Regions from separate parts of the Homo sapiens genome. Here regions 2, 3, 4, 5, 6 and 7 are each linked to region 1. The links are contacts of gene promoters, found by promoter capture Hi-C in blood cells and fetal thymus (Javierre and others, 2016). All regions are on one chromosome and are shown on one strand. Each heading gives the region's core, a stretch centred on a gene start or on the middle of the fragment in contact. The rest is flanking DNA. Distances are from core to core; before and after follow the strand shown. Region 1 holds the start of SKIDA1 (SKI/DACH domain containing 1). Region 2 overlaps ARMC3 (armadillo repeat containing 3). Region 3 overlaps PIP4K2A (phosphatidylinositol-5-phosphate 4-kinase type 2 alpha). Region 4 holds the start of PIP4K2A (phosphatidylinositol-5-phosphate 4-kinase type 2 alpha). Region 5 overlaps LOC107984215 (a long non-coding RNA gene). Region 6 overlaps PIP4K2A (phosphatidylinositol-5-phosphate 4-kinase type 2 alpha). Region 7 overlaps PIP4K2A (phosphatidylinositol-5-phosphate 4-kinase type 2 alpha).

Region 1 (2,700 bases), core at 30-2,529:
TTCTTGGCAAATACTATTTGGTGATGTGGTGCAAAAACACAATGGTAAAAAATTTCGGGGTATTTGTAAGTTTTCTGGAGAGTTGCAGGCCCCTTTCCTTTTGAAAGTTTAGAGCTCCAATACCCTCAATTCTACTGGCAGAATTAGGATGGACTTAGAGGGTCCTAAACGTGACCGATTCACTAAGGCGGGGGGGGGGGGGGGCTACAGCTTGCAGCAACGTGCTCTGCAACTTAATCCTACGCTAAAAGAGGGCAGAGAGCGAAAAAGAATGGAATACAAACTCTCCCGACATCCGTAGTTACTTTCAAGGTGGATTGTGTATTTTAAGGCTGATGGGAACGTCTGGTTTGTGGAGCAAAAAGAAGAGAAGGTAAGTGTTTGTCCTTGTATCCACCAGTTCGTAGAGAAACAATGAAAGAACAAAGGGAACCACTTCCCCATCTGAACATTTTCTGTATCTCCCTCCGTTTCAAGCCAAAAAGCTTGGGAAGGGATTCGCTTTACTCTACCTTAAGTAGTGGTTGCTGGCTTGTTGAACTAAGAATGAGAAAAAAGTTGAGAGGCAGATATAGACTAAATAATAATAAAAAAGGCTTGCTGTGGCGGATCTCCACCGCGCCAGTGTCAGCAACTTGCAGCAGAAGTTGCTCAATGCACGGAGGCAAAGCCCAAGAAATACCCTTTGCACACCAGATTTCGAACTCAGTCATTTAAATAGACTTTCTTGCTGTTTGAAGGGGTTTCTGCGCACAAAATGTGTAGGTAGTGGCTATGGGAGAGATGTACTATTTAGGTCGAAAAATGATCTCATGGCTATCTGGAAAAGAATTTTTAAAAAGGAAAGGGGATTCAAGTATCACGTTACTGTTTGCTAATAGAAGAAATGGCAGCACTGGCTGGGAAAGGAGAGGGATTCGTATTGAAATGCATTTGCTTTGGGGTACGCTGGTTATCCGCAAGTCTGGCTTTGTGGGTCTGCGTGGCTGAATAAGTGACCAAGTGCCTTCGGCATTATATAAACGGATCGATGTGTGCGGGAGTCCCCAAAGCCGTCGAGCACGTGAAACGCGACTTTTTACTGCCCTCCAAGCGGCGACCAAGCCCCGCTCCACCCCACCCCGCCTCAAAATCCGTATATTACCTGCCCTGTTACAGTGACACATGTTTATGTTTATAGTCCTGGTTTGTAGTAGTGTCAAGAACCGCAGCAAGAGGAAGGGGAGGAGAGAGGAGAGGGAGGAGTAAATTCAACCACCCCCACTTGTTGTTAAAGCAAATTTACTGCGTTATTGCAAGCTCAGGACGGGGGGCTGGGATGAGAGTTGAGAGGAAGGGTTGAGTTGGGAAGTGTGTTGGCGGTGGAAGGTGGGGGTGGGGTTAAGAGCTCCGCAATGGAGCTCCTCTCCCCAGCAGCCCAGGAAAAGCAGCTCGGTCAATAGGGGAGCATGCTGGCGCGGTCGAAAACAAAAAGGTTCCTCCTGCTCGCTGCGTTCACGTGGGGGGCTCTGCACGCGGGGCTCCAGGGCCGTGACCCCTGACCCCGGCTCCTCTCCGCGCTCTCCGGTGCCGCGCGGCCACTTTTTACCCAGGATCCCTCGCGCGGGCCGCGCTCGTGCCGAGCTGGAGTCCTTCCTAATCCTCCATTCCCGGCTCTCGCTCCCCGCCCCCGCCGCCAGCCCCGGGGGAGGATTCTCCGGCGGGGAACCCCCGCCCCACCCCCACCCCGACTGCCCCGGCGGAGTCGGCCGCAGCGAGTCCGCGCGGGGCGGGGAGGGCCGGGCCGGGCCTCCCCTACCGCGCCGGGCCTGCGAGGGAGGGGAGGGACGGGGAGCCGAGGGGAGGGGGCGCCGGCCTCCCGGCTCAGCTGCCCCACTGAGGCCTGGACCTGTTGACTGCGATTGGCCCGCCTCATCCCGCGCCCTCTCTCTGCTCGCAGCGGCCCCAGCCCTTCCGCGGCGTCGCGGGGAGGAAATGGGGATGGCTGTCCTCCTCTCCGCCTCCTTCTAACTTTCCTTTTTTTATTTGGGTGTGTTGGGGGGGGTGCTGAGAAAGCCCAGGCAACTCCACCGCCGCCCCATCCTGCCTCCGAAAGTCTCGTCACGCCCGACCCGCCGCCGCCCTCCCAGCCCCCATGACTTAAAACCGCCTCCCCTCCTCGCAGCGGCGCCCCGGCCCGGAGCCCGAGAGCCCTCGACGCCCCCGCCGCGCCTCCCCCGCCTGGCCTGGCCCAGCGGCGTCCCCAGCGAATTGTGTCGCTTTTCTGCCCTGGAAGCTCCCTCGGCCACGTTCCACTTTTTTTCCCAGTCCCAGGAGGCGTAAGATAAAACCTCTGATTTGCTGCGTGCTGCCGGGCACATTCTCTGCCCTCTCGTCCGAAGGACGAGTTTAAAATGGAGAGTTTAAAATAATAGCATTTACAGGAGGAAATAAAGAGCGAGGAGATGGTTCTTTGGCCGGTTTTAAGACATACATGCTTTTTTTTTCTTTTAATACAAGATGTCTTAAGGGTTAAAAGCGTTCTAGGGTTTGCTGTATTTCCTTCTAGATTTGGGGTTTCCTGAGGAAATCTTTTCCGGAGGGAAATAGCAAATCAACATTAAGATGGAAGCGAGACTTCTCAGCCACTTTTGGAAATGAAGGGGGAAATTGTAAAAATACATTCAGAAAAGGGCGCGAAGGCGGCGGCTGAGGGGAAGA
Region 2 (2,700 bases), core at 4-2,503, 1.5 Mb after region 1:
CAAATTGTACACAAAAGCCATACAGGAGGGCCTGATGCCTCTTTGGTATGTACATAATTTTTGCTTCTCAGAGGCCATTCCCTACCCCCACAGATAATTCTCGTGTATGTTGTGGTTATGTGAAATTTCCAGGTATTTGAGTTATGGATACGTGGATATGGATGGTAGTTAAAAATTATTAACAAACATGAATCCTTTTACTTACAAATGGGCTAATGTTGTAGAGTAAAATAGACATAAAATATATCCTGGAAGTAAATTCCGCTTCCGGGAGTATTTTGCCTTAGGTCATTGTAGTGACACCCTCTTGCCTGGAAAACCTCTTCCCATGCAGGCTGTGGTTCTCTCCCTCACCCCGTTTACATCTCTGTTACAATGTCACCTTGGCGAAGCTACTTAGCATTACCACACGGCTTAAGATTGCACTCCACACATGCATATTTTCAACGCTCCTTCCCTGCTGCCCTTTTCACATACCCTTATCATTTTCTAACATAGCATGTAACTCACCTGGTACACTTATCATCATTTATTTTCTGCACCCCCACACCCCTGCACTGCACGCCCCCCCCCCGCGCCACACACCAACCACTAGCATCCATGAAGGGAGCAGCCTTCATCTATTTAATTCACTGATGCATCCCAAGCATCTAGAACACTGTCCATCCCATAGTAGGCATTCGAAGGAAAATAGGCTTACATCAAAAATACAACCAAAAAATGGCCGGGCAAAGGTGGTTCACATCTGTAATCCCAGCACTTTGGGAGGCCAAGGCGGGTGGATTACTTGAGGTCAGGGGTTCGAGACCAGCATGGCCAACATGGCAAAACCCCATCTCTACTAAAAATACAAAAATTAGCCAGGAATGGTGGTGCATATCTGTAATCCCAGCTACATGGGAGGCTGAGGCATGAGAATTGCTTGAACCCTGTAGGCAGAGGTTGCAGTGAGCCAAGATCGCGCCACTTCACTCCAGCTTGGGCAACAGAGTGAGACTCCATCTCAAAAAAAAAAACAAAAAAAAAAAAAACAAACCCAAAACAAAACAAAACAAAACAAAAAACCCAAAAGTAAAAGAAAAGTGATGAAAACAAAGTCTATTTGACAAACAAAGTCTGTTGTCAAACAATCAATAATGGCCATTACTTAAAACAGAAAGCAATCATCAGTGTTGTTTTCTTTGTTTTTATATAACTTGGAAAACAGAAGCAACAGTGGAGGCTTCCCTATAAGAGCCTCCTATTGATACTTCTAATTATTATCTACAGAATAAAGATAACTTAAAGTGGGTACAAATATGAAAAGGCAATGAATAAGAATAAAAATAACTATTTTTATAAAGGCATAGTAAAAGGGGACAAGAACAGCCAGATTCACTTATTAGCAGTGAAAGAAGGAGAAAGCAAAGTAAAACTATTTTTAAGTGAATAAATAAAAGGTGTGAAGGCTAAAACAATGCCTGTAGAAAGGAACAAATAAAAATGGAAACCAAGAAGCAATAATGAATTTTATAGAAAAATGTAGTTGTTTGGACACATATCTTTTCTTGGTATACTGCTAATCTCTTTTACAGTTAACAATTTGTAATGCCTTTTGAAAACGAGAAAACCGTTTATTTTTGACATAGGAAATATTGTTTTCAGCTAAATTTCATGTTACATTTATCCTGTATGCTTCTATCCAATTAATCATATCAAAGTTCCATATTATTTATGCAAGTACTGAGAGACTTATTCTCTGAGGAGCAGACCCTACACATTAAAAGAATGTTTTAAACTATTACTTTATAACATCACTGCCATCTGTTGGATCTGATCAGAATTAGAGTTTAAGTTGTTCCAAGAAGAAAAAGGGTTCAGTGTTTTTCACTTCCCTTTGGCAATGCTAACTAAATTTGGCCACTGGTAAACTATGAAAAGATTAGAATAAATGTTCAGAACTAATAAAGATTAGTATAAATGTTGGCTAGACAGTTTTCAAAAGATGCAATTATCTTAGGAAATAAAATGCAATGAACAAAATAAAAATATACACAGTAATAACTACAATTATTTTAATAACTATAGAGAAGTGAGAACTGAAGTTTTGTTACAGTAAATGCATGATCATAAGTCCCTTGTTTACACATAGATCACACTAACTCTGATTCTTCATAATTATTCCATGTCATCCCCATGAAGAACTGAGTGATTTACCTAAATCTTAGAGACCCTTTTATTACCATTTCTTTGCTTTTTATTTTTTATTTTTTGTACCCCTTTTGACTTTCCATGACAGCAGTGACCCAAGAAAGTTCTAAATGTTAGCACATATAGTGGTGACTGAAAAATTAATTGATTGATTACTGGCCCATTGCCAGCTTCTACAATACCAGAGACAAAAAGCTCTTCCCCAGAAACTGTCTTGCTGTTGTGTTCCCTATGGTCAGGACCGCACAAGGGAATGATGAAATTGTAAGCAGTACACTCCAAAGGGACTCCACAAACAGATAGAATGCCCCCAAATTATATGGATGTGCATTTGAGTGCTTTGGGAAGCTTAGAATGTCCTCGTTATATATGGATAACTTGTCATTTTGTATTATCAGTATTAAACATTCTTTTCGCTAATATAGAAATAAAGCATTGACTAATTTTAATACTTATTAGAATTATTCATGGAGTATCATGCCTGAGAATGCCATGCAATTTGTAGAGAAA
Region 3 (2,700 bases), core at 29-2,528, 1.1 Mb after region 1:
GTCTCTTTCCTCTAGTCTGTCTGCTGTGGAGATGAGGAGAAGCTCATCACGCTCCTGAATATGAGACCTGGGATTACCTGCCTATTTCATTAAGCAATTTTCAAAAGGCTCCAGCACCAAGGAGGAGGAGTGGAAACACCTAGTTCTCCCTGTGGGTGATGGACACCTCATCAGGATGGGGACAGACTGAGGACTTGGCTCCTGGAGCTCCAGTTTTCCCAACTCCAAGTCTCGGGCCCCTTCTTCCCACCCATCTCCTCATCCCTCTCTCACCAATTACTAACTCCCTTGTCTACAGTTTGCCAGACTACATCCTATGGGCAAATCTGGCCGCTGGCTGCTTTTGTCAATAACGTTTTATTGGAACAGAGCCAGGCCCATTGATTTGTGTTATCTATGGCTGTGTTCGTGCTATGATAGAAGTTTGAGTCACTGACAGAAACTGTATGGCCTAAATACAGTGCCTAAAATACTTACTGTCTTTTTGCAGAAAAAGTTTGCTCACCCTTAGATCTGTCTTAGGAAGGCAGATTAATCCCACCAGGCCTTCCATCCCTGTTTAATTCAGATGTTACAAGAATTCTAGCCACCAGCTCGCTCCATTCCCCTCCAAAGATTGCCTAACCTGACCCAGTTGACCTGAACCTTTGCCATCCCAGGCCCCCAAATCCCTCCATGGGGCTCTCCAAGAGTCATAATTTCTCATCAGCAAAAATTAACCTAACGCTGAACCTTTATCTTTTCATGCCAGCCAAATTCTGATTGTCCCCAAGGACCACACTTCCCTTGCAGCCCCCCTCAAGTATTTTTTTCTTCTGCGCAGGAACCACAGAACCAGAAGATGGGGTAGGTGCCTTGTGCTCCTCCTGACCAATCCCACACCCCCATTCCCTCCTCCTCCCTGAAGCGGTCATCCCCTCTGAAGCACCTACCATCACATTACACCACGCCTCTGCCTCTTGGAAGGCTCCTGGCCACTTCCCCTTCCCTTGGAGGGTTTATCATCCTCCAGAACCCAGCCTGCCCCACCATCTGCAGTGCAATGGCTCTCAGTTTTTAAAACATTTCTAGCCCTAATCTCTCCACTGAATTCTAAACTCCTGCTAATCACCATCCCCAGCTGGATCTCTAACAAGCATCCCCAAAACTAAACAACACGTAAATATGAAGTCCTGTTCTCCCCTGGCCTGCAACCAGCTCCTGCTCACCCCTCCCTCTCTCAGCCAGTGGGACCTCCACGCACAGAGTAGCACCTCCATGCACAGAGTAGCTTGGGCCCAAACTCCCGGAGTTGACTCTGACTCCCCTCTCACCCTGCAGTCAAGTCTTCAGCAAATCTGTGGGCTCTTTATTCAAAACATGCCCCAAATCAGCCACTTCTCTCCACCACTGCCTCTCTCTTCAAAGCCATCAGCATGATTCTGCAGATGGCGGCAAAGCCTCCTGGGAGGTCTTGGCTTATCAGTTCCACACCTTGCAGCCCAGGGCATCCTATGCAGAACATCAAGCTAATTATTTCACATCCCTGCCCAACTCCTCTACAAGTCCTCACCTTGGCTAAACTCCTGCCTGGTTTGCCCATGGCTAGTCCGTCAGGCTTCGGTCCCCACCTCACTTCCCAGTCTCTCACCTCAAGTCTCCTCTCAAATGCCACCTTAGCAGATGGGGCTCCCCTCACCACCCTATCCAGATGGCACCCACCACTCTAATCTCCTTCCCTAGCACTTGGTAGCACCTGACCTGACAACTTACTTTGTTCATTTTTAACATTTTCTCTCCGCCTCCTAGAATGTAAGACAGGACAGTAGGGATCTAGTCTGTGTGTCTATTTTTTCCCTAGTGTGTATCTTCTAGGACCTACACTTGTGCCAGGTAATTAGTGGACAGGCCATAAATATTCAATAAATAAATGAACTAAATGAACCAACCAAGTCACCATTATTTGTTTCATGGCAACTTGCCCTAACTGGAGAAGAAAAAGAACTGCTTCGGTTAATTTCCAGATACTCCTAGAAATTCCCAATCCATAAGAGTCAGTAAATTCGCAAGACAGTTTTCTAAGACTTACTGCCTACCCCCTTCCCCCTATGCTGGGGACTTACTAAAAGAGCAAAGAAATATTAAACTATCAGGTAGAACCAAATCACTATAATTGGTCAGAATTGACTTTTAAAATACCAAAATTTTGATCTTTTAAAATTTTGATTCTCCACACTAGGTTGAAGCAACTCATTTTGAAAACGCAATTTTTTTAAATGGGTGACGATGACAAAAAAATATTAATGCTCACGTATAACACCACTAGTGTGTCTGGTTAGTTATTAAAAATGAATTAGGGCCAGCCACGATGGCTCACGCCCATAATCCCAGCACTTTGGGAGGCTGAGGTGAGGGGATTACCTGAGCCCAGGAGTTTCAGACCAGCTTGAGCAACATAGTGAGACCCTGTCTCTACAAAACATTTTAAAAATTAGCCAGCCATGGTGGCAGGACCTGTAGTCCCAGCTACTCGGGAGGCTGAGATGGAAGCATCACTTGAGCCTGGGAGTTTCAGGTTGCAATGAGATACGATTGCACCACTGTGCTCCAGTTCTGGGTAACAGAGAAAGATTCTATTTCTTTAAAAAAAAAAAAAAAAGAAAAGAAAAGAAAAGAAAGAAAAAGATTAGTTTTGAAGGAATGAAAACAAGTAGAATACTG
Region 4 (2,700 bases), core at 117-2,616, 1.2 Mb after region 1:
GCTATTTCAGACCCTCGAACCGCAGTCCGCATAGCCCGCAGCGGCGCATCCTCCAATCCCCGACTGTGCGTGACGCTAACCTTTCCACGCGTTCTCCAGCCTTTCCCACACCCCCCACAGCGGGTGCGGCCAACTCGGGACCCCCTCCGCCCGCGCCCGCCGGGACCCCCGCCTGCTGTCCCCGCCCCGGCCGCCCTTCCGCAGTCGGTGACTTCTGCCTGACTCCCCAAAGTGGGGGGAGGCGACGAAGGGAGGAAGACTCCCCGCCAAGGGCTCTCCAGCCCGCACAGCGGCAGGGCGATGCGGGAGAAGCGCAGGGATGCCGCCCGACGCCAGAGCCATATTTACATCGGCTGCTGCTTTGCCAAAAAGCCGACTTGTGCCCAGTAATATTGCCTTTAAAGGAAAAAGAAAGGACCTAAGCACTAAAGCTGCTGCCCCAAATCTGCTCGCGCTCCGGTATCCTCGCCCCAGTGCCCCAGTGGGAGGCTCGCACGCGCCCAGCCCGGGACAGGTACACCTGCCCGCAAGCGGAAGACGCGGGCGCCGCGCGGCCCCCACACCGGGTAGCGGTCGCCCGGACCCGGCCCCCAGCAGCTCCCGCCGGGGCTGACAGCCGAGGCGCCGTGCCCCGCACAAACTTCCTACCTCCCAGGCTGCGGGGACCGACCTGCGGGCGGGCGGGCGGACCGGGGGCGGCACTGGCACCCACCGTGAGACTCACATGCACACGGGACCCCCGACCCGCACCGGGCCATAGATCTAAAGGGGACGCAAGTGGTGGTGCCTGGGCGGCCCAGAGGGCTGGGGGCACGCGCCGCGGGGCTGGGGGCTTCGAGGCGGGCGAGCAGCCGGAGGTCCAGGGCTGACTCCGGCTCCCCGCCCCGCAGCAGCTGCAGCCGGAGGAGGAGGGGAACGAGGAGGAAGAGGAGGAGGAGGAAGGGGACCGCGCGCCGCAGCTGAGCCCTTACCGAGTGGTTTACCCCCCACATGAGGACGCTGAGCAGCGGGTCGCTGGCCCGAAACAGCTTCACTTTCTGCGCTACGAAGTGCTTCTTCTTGGTCTTGGTCTTGCTCGCCAGGACAGAGGACCCTAGGTTGCCGGGGGTCGCCATGGCCGCCTCCTATGTCCCCTCCACCGCCGTGCTCCCGAGGCCGGGGACCCGCCCTCTCTACACCCCGGCCCGGGGAGGCAGCCGCATCCCCCCGGCGGCGGCCCCGGCGCGCCGCGCTCCGCTCCGCCCGCCGCCGCCGGCGCGCTCAGCCCCACTCGGCTCGCTCCGCCCGCTCGGCCCGGCAGACTGCGCTCGGCTCGCGCCCCGGCCCGTATCCTGCGCCCGCCGCGGATCCGCGCTCAGCCCGCGGCTGGACCCGGCGCGCGGCGAGCGGCTTCCGCGTTGGGCGCCGGCGTCATGACGCAGGGGGCGGGCGGGCAGGCGGGAGGCGGCTGCGGCGCCGCGGGCGGGGCACTGGGTGCGGGGCGCGGGGCGCGGCAGCTGGACCGTTAGGCTGCGCCTTCCCGCCCCGGCTCCGCTGCAGCCGGGCCGCCCCCTGTGCGCGGGCGACCTCCGGGCGTTCGCTCCCTGCCCGCGGAGGAGGCCGTGGGTTGCGAGCGGGAGCCTGGGGACCCCGGCTAGGCGTCCCCTGCCGCTCCCCAAGGAGGGAGAGGACAGAGTGGGCAGAGTGAGGAGGTTGGGGAGAGGAGCCCCCAGGCGTCGATCAGGCGAAGGAGGGAGGCTCATGCACTCACCCACGCCACGAGTCAGGAGACCCAGCCAGGTGTGAAATGCTGCAGGGAGACCAGGGCTTCCCAGCACCGAGGGGAAGGACCCGGGCACATTGCCGGGTCAGTCCCTGAAATGAACTTAATACTTTTGTGCGGATAACCGTCTGGCCTTTCAGACCCTCGATATGGGCCTCCTGGAGCCATTCAAGAGGGAGACTCCCACGTAATAGGCTGGGCTGTCACTGCCAACCCACTCCGTGCCCGGGGCAGGAACCTCGGACCTCATCGAGAGCCCTTGGCTTAACCAGTAGAATCATGCCCCAAAGTGCACCTTCTTCCAATCCATCACTATGGTACTTGCCATCCCTGCCTGTTTTCCAGTGCACTCACCGTCCGTGGAAATCTGTTCACCGTCTTCCTCCAGATACACCTAAATGTAGCCCTTATTATGCTGAGAATACTTGGCCTACCTCAGGAAGCTGCCATTCCAAGTATGTCTAAAACCCTGCTGCCCCCATATCGTCCTTGCAGTCGTCATCCTGTGCTATTTACTCTGACCCAGCTCACCAGTCCTCACGGAGTAGGTTCTTGGAAACTGTCACCTTAAGCAAAACAACATATAACAAAACCAAATTTGCCATAGGCTGACATATAAAAAAAGAGTTAAGTTCCTACAGCATTATTTCCGGTTACAAAAACATCACCGAACTTCAAAGTAAAAATTCAAAACACTTCTAATATTAAACATTAAAATAAATGTGAGCTATACCTCTTTTTTATTTTTATTTTTTCCCTTGAGATAGGGTCTCGCTGTGTCAACCAGGCTGGGGGTGCAGTGGTGCAATCACAGCTCACTGCAGGCTCTACTTCCCCAGACTCAGGTGATTCTCCCACTTCAGACTCCCCAGTAGTTGAGACTACAGGCGCGCACCACCAAGCCTGGATAAACTTCTTGTATTTTTGGTAGAGATGGG
Region 5 (2,785 bases), core at 141-2,640, 1.6 Mb after region 1:
TCAGAACACTGTTTTCATATCTACTCTTCCTTGATAAGCACTTTTAACATGTGAGAGGCTACTTCTCCAATATTATCTTTAACATAAAAGTCTATTTTTATCCACATTTATTTCAGTTGTTATTTTTTCAATTCCTGTAAAGTAATCCATTGGGATTATAAGTGACATAGCTTAAATCTATAAGTTGAATGTATTTTAACCTTCGTAATTTCAGCTCTTTGGTCAGCAAGTGTATCTTTCCATTTTTCACCACCCGTCATATAATTACAGACTGAAGAGAGTTGAGATATAATTTGAGTTCTAGTTCTAGGCCACCCTCCCCTGTATTCGTGTCATTTTCCAGATAATCAAACCAAGGCCCAGAGACTGGTTTGTCCAAAACATCTGTATCTGCTTAGGAGAACACCTAGAAATTGAACCCAGAGCTTATCCCATGCTATTTTTTTCTATCGAACCATTTATTTAAGTCTTCATTCACTGCCTTTAGAGCTTTAAAACTATATTTTATATATATTAGATGTTCCAGTTGGTTAGTTTCTAGGAATTCTCTAGATTGAGGTAAAACAAAAATGAGTATCGACATTGAACTTTGGGCAGATGGAAGCAGATAAAGTATTTTCAGTGCAGATTAATTGTGTAAAGCTTATTCCAGTCCCTCATTCTTTCCCAAATGGTTTTTGGTAGGGAAAAGCAAATTGGCTTTTGCACTTATCTCCCATTTTTTGGTCATTCTATCCTATCTTTTAGGGATTTTATTATCAAATTTATAGTTTGCAGAGAAGTGTGTTGGATATACAAAGAGTCAAAGTTATAGAATTTTGCCTTTCCTGAAGATTCTCACAATCAAATTCAGGACATCAGATATACACTGTGTCAACTTCATGAAACAGAAAATCCCAGTAACAGTGATTTAAACAAAATATAGATTTATTGGTCTCTCATGTAATTGGAAATCTGAAGGCAGGCAATCCAAGACTAGCATATTGACTCCACACTGTCTTCAGAATCCTGGGCTCCTTCATGTCTTCTACTTCTTTAAAATCAAGATGTGGGTCTCATCTTCATGTATACCAGAAGATTGCCAGTGCTCCAGCCATCATGACTAATTTCCAAGCAGAAACAAAAGACAGAGCAAAAGTCCAGTGCTGAGCCAGCTCCTCTTTAACTAGTTTTCCTGGTAGCTCCCAGTGATGTCTGCTCCTATCATTGCCCATAACAGCATCATATGATTGCCACCAACTACAAGGGAGCTGACAGATGTAACATTTTAGCTAGGCATATTGCTACTCTTAATAAAATCAAAGATCTGTTTGTAAGTAGAGAGAGTGGATATCGGCCAGGCAAATGATAGTCTCTACCACTCAGTGTACAAAGTAAAAGGGAAAACATAAAGTAGAGTTTTGTTCAGGCTAAGACCATGTGTCCAAGAATGTGAGGTTAATGCATGGCCTTGATGGTTAAGTTGGATTCAGATAAATGGTGGTGAGAAGAGGGGACATTTTAAGACCAGTAAGGGCTTGATCACAGATGAGGTAAAGGTCCTCCTAGCAGGTGTAAAGGAGAATGGTGGTAGGGAGGGAGGGACTTCCTCTGTGCTTAGAATGTCTTTCTGGGAGTGTGAGGATATGTAGAAATGCAAGGATAGATTGGTTATCAGCTCTGTTTACCAATTACCGTTGTCCTCATTAAATCTTCAATAACAACTAACGTTTATTAAAACCAAGTATGTACCAAAGGGTTTGCTAGGTGTTTTAACGTATGTTGTATCTAATCCTTACAATAACCCCATTTTGGGGATAAGAAAACTGATCTGTCACAGGTTGAATACTTGATCAAGCTCATGCGTCTTTTAAATTTAAGATATTCTGACTTGAATGTGTTTTACACCAGACTCCATGATTTTTTTCCCACAATGTCACAATGTTAAGTTAATTTATTAACTTTGCTTGGGATTGGGGGTGAAGGTGGGTGAGTTAAACCGGTATTCCTTGATATTTTCTAAATTCTAAACTTTAGGGGAACTTTACAAACTCTTCAACTAACTAGCAGTGTGATCATAGACAAGGTACTTATCCTCTCTGGATTTGAATTTGTTTACTTATTACTCAGATACAAAACCAGACAGATACTATAAGAGAGGAAGCTTTCAGTCCAACATCCTTCATCAACACAGACACAAAAATTCTAAAAAAATGTAATCCATGATACATAGAACATAATCCAACAATACATGAAACAAATAATAAAACTGACAAAGCAGGCTTTATTGAAGAAATACTAAGTTGGTTTAACGTTTGAAAATCAAGTAACAAACTACAAAAAGAAAATAGGAAAAAGGTATGATTATATCAGTAGCTGCAGAAAAGCATTTGACAAAAATCCAACATCCCTTCCTGATAAAAACTCTCAGTAGACTACAAATAGAAATTTCCTTAATCTGATAGAAAATTTATGAAAAACTTATAGCTAATATCATACTTAATGGTAAAAGGCTGAATACTTTTCCTCTAAGATCAGGAACAAGACAAGGATGTTCACTCTCAACATTTCTATTCAACACTGCGCAGGCTCTAACCAGTGCAATAAGGCAAGAAAAAGAAATCAAAGACATCTGTATTAAAAAGAAAGAGTAAAACTCTTTCTACACAGATGACATGATTTTTCTATGTAGAAAATCTGATAAAATCCATAAAATGTTACTAGAACTAAGAAATGAGTTTAGAAAGATTACAGAATACAAGATCAATATACAAAATCTACATACTAGCAATCAGAAATTGAAATT
Region 6 (2,700 bases), core at 1-2,500, 1.2 Mb after region 1:
CCCAGGGCTAATTTTAAAGCCTGAATTCATCTAAAATAGTCAGTAATTTAGGCCTCCTGAAAATTGGCAACTGTAGTTAGCACTGTCACAATAAAATACATCCACATAAAGTGGAAATAACAGTTTATCTAGATGGCTACAGTTTATAAGCGTGACCTTTCCTTTCTTTCTAAGAGCTCTACTTTTTTCCTTCAATTTTCTTCAGTGTTCTCTGGAGTTCATTTCCTTCAGCTTAAAAAAAAAAAAAAGGCTACTTTGTATGTTAAGTAAAAATTAAAATTGCATTGCTTTTCCTTTCTGAGTGTCTTATCTAAATGGAAAGAAGCCTGAGTACTCAGTTAGATGGCAAAGCTCTGAGCTTCCACACCTGCCTTGCCAGGCTTCGGAATGTTTGTGAGGTCAGCACAAGTGACCGGCATTATTTATACTACATAATTCTTGACAGAGTGGCTAGCGCACAGAATCAAGCTTCAAGCCAAACTACAGGACCACAGTAGAGGGATGGTAACATCCAACATTTAAAAAGCAAGGCTGGGTGTGGTGGCTCATGTCTGAAATCCCAAAACTTTAGGAGGCCGAGGCAGAAAGATCACTTGAGCCCAGGAGTTCAAGACTATCCTACTAGGCAACACAGCAAGACCCCCATCTCTACAAAAATTTGTTTTTAAAAATTAGCGGGGTATGGTGGCACACAACTATAGTCCCAGCTATTACAGGAGGCTGAAGCAGGAGAATCACTTGTACCCAAGAATTCGAGGCTGTAGTGAGCTATGATCACACCACTGTACTCCAGCCTGGGTAACAGGGCAAAACTGCATCTCGGAAAATTTTTTAAAAAATTAAACACACACATACACACACACACACAAACACACACACACCCTGTAATTGTGGACTCTAGCAGATGTCACATTACATTTTCTGAAACGGTTCATGTGAATCGTCCATAGGTCGAGTCTAACGTTAAGCAGTCAGACCGAGGATAATGAAAGGCAAATTCCTGACTAGTCTACTTACATGGGAAGAATTCTGCCTGCCATTAAATGCTATTGGATTGAGTTTAATATAAATCATGTGGGCTATGGCCAGCAAAAATTAACCAACCACAGACAGTGGACAGCGACCTGCTTCTGGGATGCAGGCACTCTCTGCTTAGAGTCCGACGAAGAAAAACTGGGAGAAGTGGGTCAGTTGAAAGCAGCTCTTTTCAGAGGGCAGACTCGGGCCAGGCAGCCTATGTGGAAGCCATCTTCCAACCTCAGACCTGATACTCCCACACTGCCCATGTGCGTACATCTTTGGTCAAACTGCTGAAAATCTCTATAAAGAGATTTAAATGGGTTAAAAGCATATGGGAAAAAAGGATATCTTTTTATTCCAATCTTTGCTGTTCAATTTAGAACCCTGAAAGCAGAAGATGTGGGAAAGCAGCTCTTAGCCACACTGCTAGGGTTATAATCTGGTATAACCCTTTTTGAAAGCAACTTGGCAACATGTACCAAGAGCCTTAAAATATTCATACCCTTTGACCAAGTAAATTCCCCAAAAAGAGAATCTCTTCTAAGGAAATCATCCTAAATAAGAAAGAGTTTCATACAGGGAGATGCTGACAGCAACATTATTTGTGGTGGCAAAATACTGGGACCAATGTTTGGACTATTAAACTTCATTAAACTATTTAGGTTGGTGCAAAAGGAATAGCAGTTTTTGCCACTGAAAGTAATGGCAACAACCACAATTACTTTTGCACCAACCTAATTATTAAGCAGTGATCAAAAATTTAAAATAATTGTTAAGAATACATAGTAAGATTAAATACATAGAATAGTCTCAATGAGATTTTTTTAAAAAGACATTGGAAAGAAACATTAAAACATTAACACTGGTTGCTTGATAGAATGGTTATGGTAATTTTTTATATTTGTGTGTGTTTTTCAAATTTTTCAGAAAATATGCTATGTATCTGTACTTATCAGAACTTAAATTTCACTGAAACCATATTTCTAGTTCACCTAAATAAGCATAAGAAGAAAGAAGCTTTATCTAACACATAATAAAAATATTCACTATTGGCTATTTCCTGGCTCAAATATTCATTGGCATGTGTTAAATCTGTGAGTATCCGATGCCAGAACTGCAAGAGAAAGTGAATTAGACAAAAAGATTAGCTTCTCCTAACCTATTTTTTTAATGTCCCTAAAATTTGCTCCTGTCCTCCTACTTTGGCGCAACGTGCCAAAAAGAAAGTGCCTTATGGATTTATCATAATTTCAGAAACAATATCTGTTTCCCAACAGTTCTTCTGATGCCAAAGCATTTAACTTTCCATCTGGGTGCAGGCAGAACCTAATTTATGAATGGGTTGTGTTCCAAACATTCATTTGTAAGTTGGCCCTTTGATTCTACAGGAAATGTACTCCAAGGCCTAATGTAGTAAAAGCCTGTGGACTTGGTCTAAGAGAGACAGGGGACCCCTGAGAAGAAAACTTCTGTTCCTGTTCCTGGGCACAGAAGCAAGCTAGGGCCAATGCTGAAAAAGGTAGCTGCTGAGTAGCGCAGGGAGACAACTGAACACACTAGATACCTGGGAATGTGCGAAACTTGGGAGGGGCACATGGTCAGGCCAGAAGAGGATTAGTAAGAAAACTCAAAGGGCCGACAAATAAATTAATGTTCTGCTTGTTTAGAGCAGTATCTTCA
Region 7 (2,718 bases), core at 214-2,713, 1.2 Mb after region 1:
GTATATACCAGACACTGTGACTCCTAAGAACCATGCTGTGGTGATCAGAGAAGAGACAAGAGACAAGACACTTGGGAGCAAAAAAAAAAAAAAAAAAAAAAAGAAGACCAGACCAGCTGTTTCTCCTACTCAAAGTTAATTCCAGCCATCCAGTTACACATTCAGCAAATACTTATTGTACATCTACTTTATGCCAGTCACTATGTTAGGTGTAGTTCTTTAACTCTTAGCTTTAGCTGACAATAGGTAGAAATGTTATATTCTTTATAGCACTGAAAATATATTTGAACCACTAACGAATTTTGTTTTACTAAGAAATTTCCAGCCAGGCACAGTGATTCATGCCTGTAATCCCAGCACTTTGGGAGGCTAAACGTGGGAGGATGCTTGAGGCCAAGATTTCAGGACCAGTCCAGGCAATATTGCAAGACTCAGTCTCTACCAAAAAATAAATAAATAAATAAATAAATAAATAAAACCCAGCCAGGAGTGGTGGTGTGCCTATGGTCGTAGCTACTCAGCAGGCTGAGGCAGGAAGATTGCTTAAGCCCAGGAGTTTGAGGCTGCAGTGAGCTATCATCATGCCACTGTACTCCAGCTTGGGCAACAAAACAAGACCGTAGGATTCTGTCTTTAAAAAACAAAAAAAAGTCCATCTATATTTTTCATGGGCAGCTAAAAGGTAGCCAACGTAACTATTAATCAAAGAGAACTTACTTTATTGCTTTAAGAGGGCACAGCTCAGAACAGTCATCACTGATACGTGACATCTTTCTGGCCCTTCATTCTTGTAATTTACATATCATTCATTCAATGTTGATTGGTACATTGACTAAAAATTGGGAACATTTGTATTCATGTAAGAGTGGAGATAGTAGCAAGCAAATGAAATTCTTCTATCCCAGGTACCATTACAATGACATATTACCTGATACTTTTGCTTTATCTCTTAGAACATTGTTGAGGAGAAGCCAGGCACGGTGGCTCACACCTGTAATCCCAGCACTTTGGGAGGCCGAGGTGGGCAGATCACGAAATCAGGAGTTTGAGACCAGCCTGACCAACATGGTGAAACCCCATCTCTACTAAAAATACAAAAATTAGCCGAACATGGTGTCGTGTGCCTGTAATCCCAGCTACTCAGGAGGCTGAGGCAGGAGAATCGCTTGAACCCGGGAGGTGGAGGTTGCAGTCAGTGAGCCAAGATTGCACCACTGCACTCCAGCGTGAGCAACAGAGTGAGACTCCGTCTCAAAAAACAAACAAACAAAAACACTGTTGAGGAGAAACAGTAAATAAGAAATGTCAATAAACAAGCCATTATAAGTAATGAAAAGACTCTCCTGAACAAGCAGAATGGTTCCCTTAAATGATCAATGTAGTACAATTCTCCTGACACAGTCCATGAATGAGCCCTCACATCCACTCTACATAATGCTCAGAGAAGAGGGTCAATGGCAGGAGGTGCTGAAGCCTGACTAGTTCCTGGCTGTCATCCTTGAACAACACAGTGTTTCTCTGACATTTCCCGACTTGGAAGAAGGAAACTGATCCACAAAAAAATCACATAATTTATTGCACATTTCCTATTCCTTAAATACTTTGGAAACTGTGGCTAGTATTTCTCAACAACCATTAACAGGGAAACAGACACACTGTTGCCATTTCTTTGTCCCTGTGCTCCATGATGGCACATGGAGCTCCTTTTCCTTTTTGTCTTTTCTTTCCTGTCTTTTCATCTTTTCGGCTCCTTTTCCTGTCTTTTCATCTCTCTGAGCCTCCGTGGAGAGCATTTTTGAAGTGTCTGTTTCCATTGACAGCAGAGGCTCAAAAACTGTGGTCCCAGTAACAGTGCTTTCATTTCCCAAGTTTCTTCTGCTCAATAAGACCCTTGACCAACTTACATTAAACAGCAAATAAAGTTAAGACTTCATGTAAAGTCATCAAGATGTATTCCCTTCGTATGGAAACCAGTACCTACAGAAGTTGTTCACAGTGATGACCTATTGCTTCCAAAGGGCCATGTAACAGCCCAAAGACTTCAAGGACCAGTCTTCATCAGAATTTGTAACCAATCTTTAAACCTATCGTCTCTCAGCTTTGTCTCACTGCTTGAAGAAAATAGCATTTAATGTAGATATGGCCAGATCAAGAGGGGCATTCTAAAAATCTGAATGTGGCACGATACAGTTATAGGTGGAGAGTCTTCAGCTGCTACATCATCTCATCCAGCAGAGAGGAACAAGGGCAAGAGACTAACCAGAGGGAATATCTGGCTCAGTGATGGGCTGATAAGGGAGACCTTTCATAGGCTCTTCCTGCTGATGAATCAGAGAACAAGAAGTAAAAGGTACATCTGCTTAACTGGGCAACTGCTATAGTCCAGGCACTGTTCTGGGTGCTGAGGATACAGAGCTGAATGAAACAGAAAACATTCCTTTCCCTCATGGAGCTTCTTAGCAGAGGAGGAAGCCAACAATTAAAAAACCAGAATGTCACTCAGTACTAAGTGCCACAGGGGAGAAAGGCTTAGCTCAGAGGGATGGCAAGAGCTGAATACTGGGAGATGCTGTTTTGCCTAAGAGGCTTACAATATTTATTACCTGCTAGTAGGTTAGTCTGGTACAATCTGTGCCACCAATACTAGAAATAGGAGAAGAAAAAGCATGATTTTATTGCAAATTACTTTCCTTATATTTCTCTTTCCTGTTATACTTA

The links. The method cuts DNA at HindIII sites, captures the fragments that hold promoters and counts their contacts. A CHiCAGO score of 5 or more calls a contact.
Region 2: a fragment that was not itself captured here is called in contact with the fragment with the promoter of SKIDA1 in region 1 in 6 of 17 cell types (total B cells, naive B cells, fetal thymus and 3 more); the score reaches 14.2 in total B cells.
Region 3: a fragment that was not itself captured here is called in contact with the fragment with the promoter of SKIDA1 in region 1 in 1 of 17 cell types (naive CD4 T cells); the score reaches 5.4 in naive CD4 T cells.
Region 4: a contact is called between the fragment with the promoter of PIP4K2A here and the fragment with the promoter of SKIDA1 in region 1, in 3 of 17 cell types (activated CD4 T cells, total CD4 T cells and naive CD8 T cells). The highest score is 7.3, in activated CD4 T cells.
Region 5: a contact is called between a fragment that was not itself captured here and the fragment with the promoter of SKIDA1 in region 1, in 2 of 17 cell types (naive CD8 T cells and total CD4 T cells). The highest score is 6.2, in naive CD8 T cells.
Region 6: a contact is called between a fragment that was not itself captured here and the fragment with the promoter of SKIDA1 in region 1, in 2 of 17 cell types (activated CD4 T cells and fetal thymus). The highest score is 5.8, in activated CD4 T cells.
Region 7: a contact is called between a fragment that was not itself captured here and the fragment with the promoter of SKIDA1 in region 1, in 1 of 17 cell types (non-activated CD4 T cells). The highest score is 5.7, in non-activated CD4 T cells.

Annotation. Positions count from the first base shown.
Region 1 is chr10:21,524,403-21,527,102 of GRCh38, forward strand. It overlaps SKIDA1 (SKI/DACH domain containing 1), which reads right to left and starts at 1,280. Exons shown (of 4, transcript NM_207371.4): 1 at 1,145-1,280. RefSeq lists enhancers at 672-1,315, 1,316-1,959 and silencers at 1,615-2,034, 2,155-2,304. The HindIII fragment of the contact is 4,259 bases long and covers 484-2,700 here.
Region 2 is chr10:22,985,547-22,988,246 of GRCh38, forward strand. The region is part of intron 10 of ARMC3 (armadillo repeat containing 3); the gene reads left to right. Among named protein-coding and RNA genes, the nearest start is that of ARMC3, 59 kb to the left of the region's middle. The HindIII fragment of the contact is 2,565 bases long and covers 1-2,536 here.
Region 3 is chr10:22,642,928-22,645,627 of GRCh38, forward strand. The region is part of intron 1 of PIP4K2A (phosphatidylinositol-5-phosphate 4-kinase type 2 alpha); the gene reads right to left. Among named protein-coding and RNA genes, the nearest start is that of PIP4K2A, 70 kb to the right of the region's middle. The HindIII fragment of the contact is 9,116 bases long and covers 1-2,700 here.
Region 4 is chr10:22,713,212-22,715,911 of GRCh38, forward strand. It overlaps PIP4K2A (phosphatidylinositol-5-phosphate 4-kinase type 2 alpha), which reads right to left and starts at 1,367. Exons shown (of 10, transcript NM_005028.5): 1 at 972-1,367. The coding sequence starts at 1,115. RefSeq lists silencers at 103-212, 513-632, 803-882, 1,183-1,852 and enhancers at 1,013-1,621, 1,622-2,229. The HindIII fragment of the contact is 12,209 bases long and covers 1-2,700 here.
Region 5 is chr10:23,090,514-23,093,298 of GRCh38, forward strand. The region is part of intron 1 of LOC107984215 (a long non-coding RNA gene); the gene reads right to left. Among named protein-coding and RNA genes, the nearest start is that of MSRB2, 3.7 kb to the right of the region's middle. The HindIII fragment of the contact is 1,501 bases long and covers 641-2,141 here.
Region 6 is chr10:22,696,905-22,699,604 of GRCh38, forward strand. The region is part of intron 1 of PIP4K2A (phosphatidylinositol-5-phosphate 4-kinase type 2 alpha); the gene reads right to left. Among named protein-coding and RNA genes, the nearest start is that of PIP4K2A, 16 kb to the right of the region's middle. The HindIII fragment of the contact is 1,569 bases long and covers 467-2,035 here.
Region 7 is chr10:22,674,337-22,677,054 of GRCh38, forward strand. The region is part of intron 1 of PIP4K2A (phosphatidylinositol-5-phosphate 4-kinase type 2 alpha); the gene reads right to left. Among named protein-coding and RNA genes, the nearest start is that of PIP4K2A, 39 kb to the right of the region's middle. The HindIII fragment of the contact is 5,805 bases long and covers 1-2,718 here.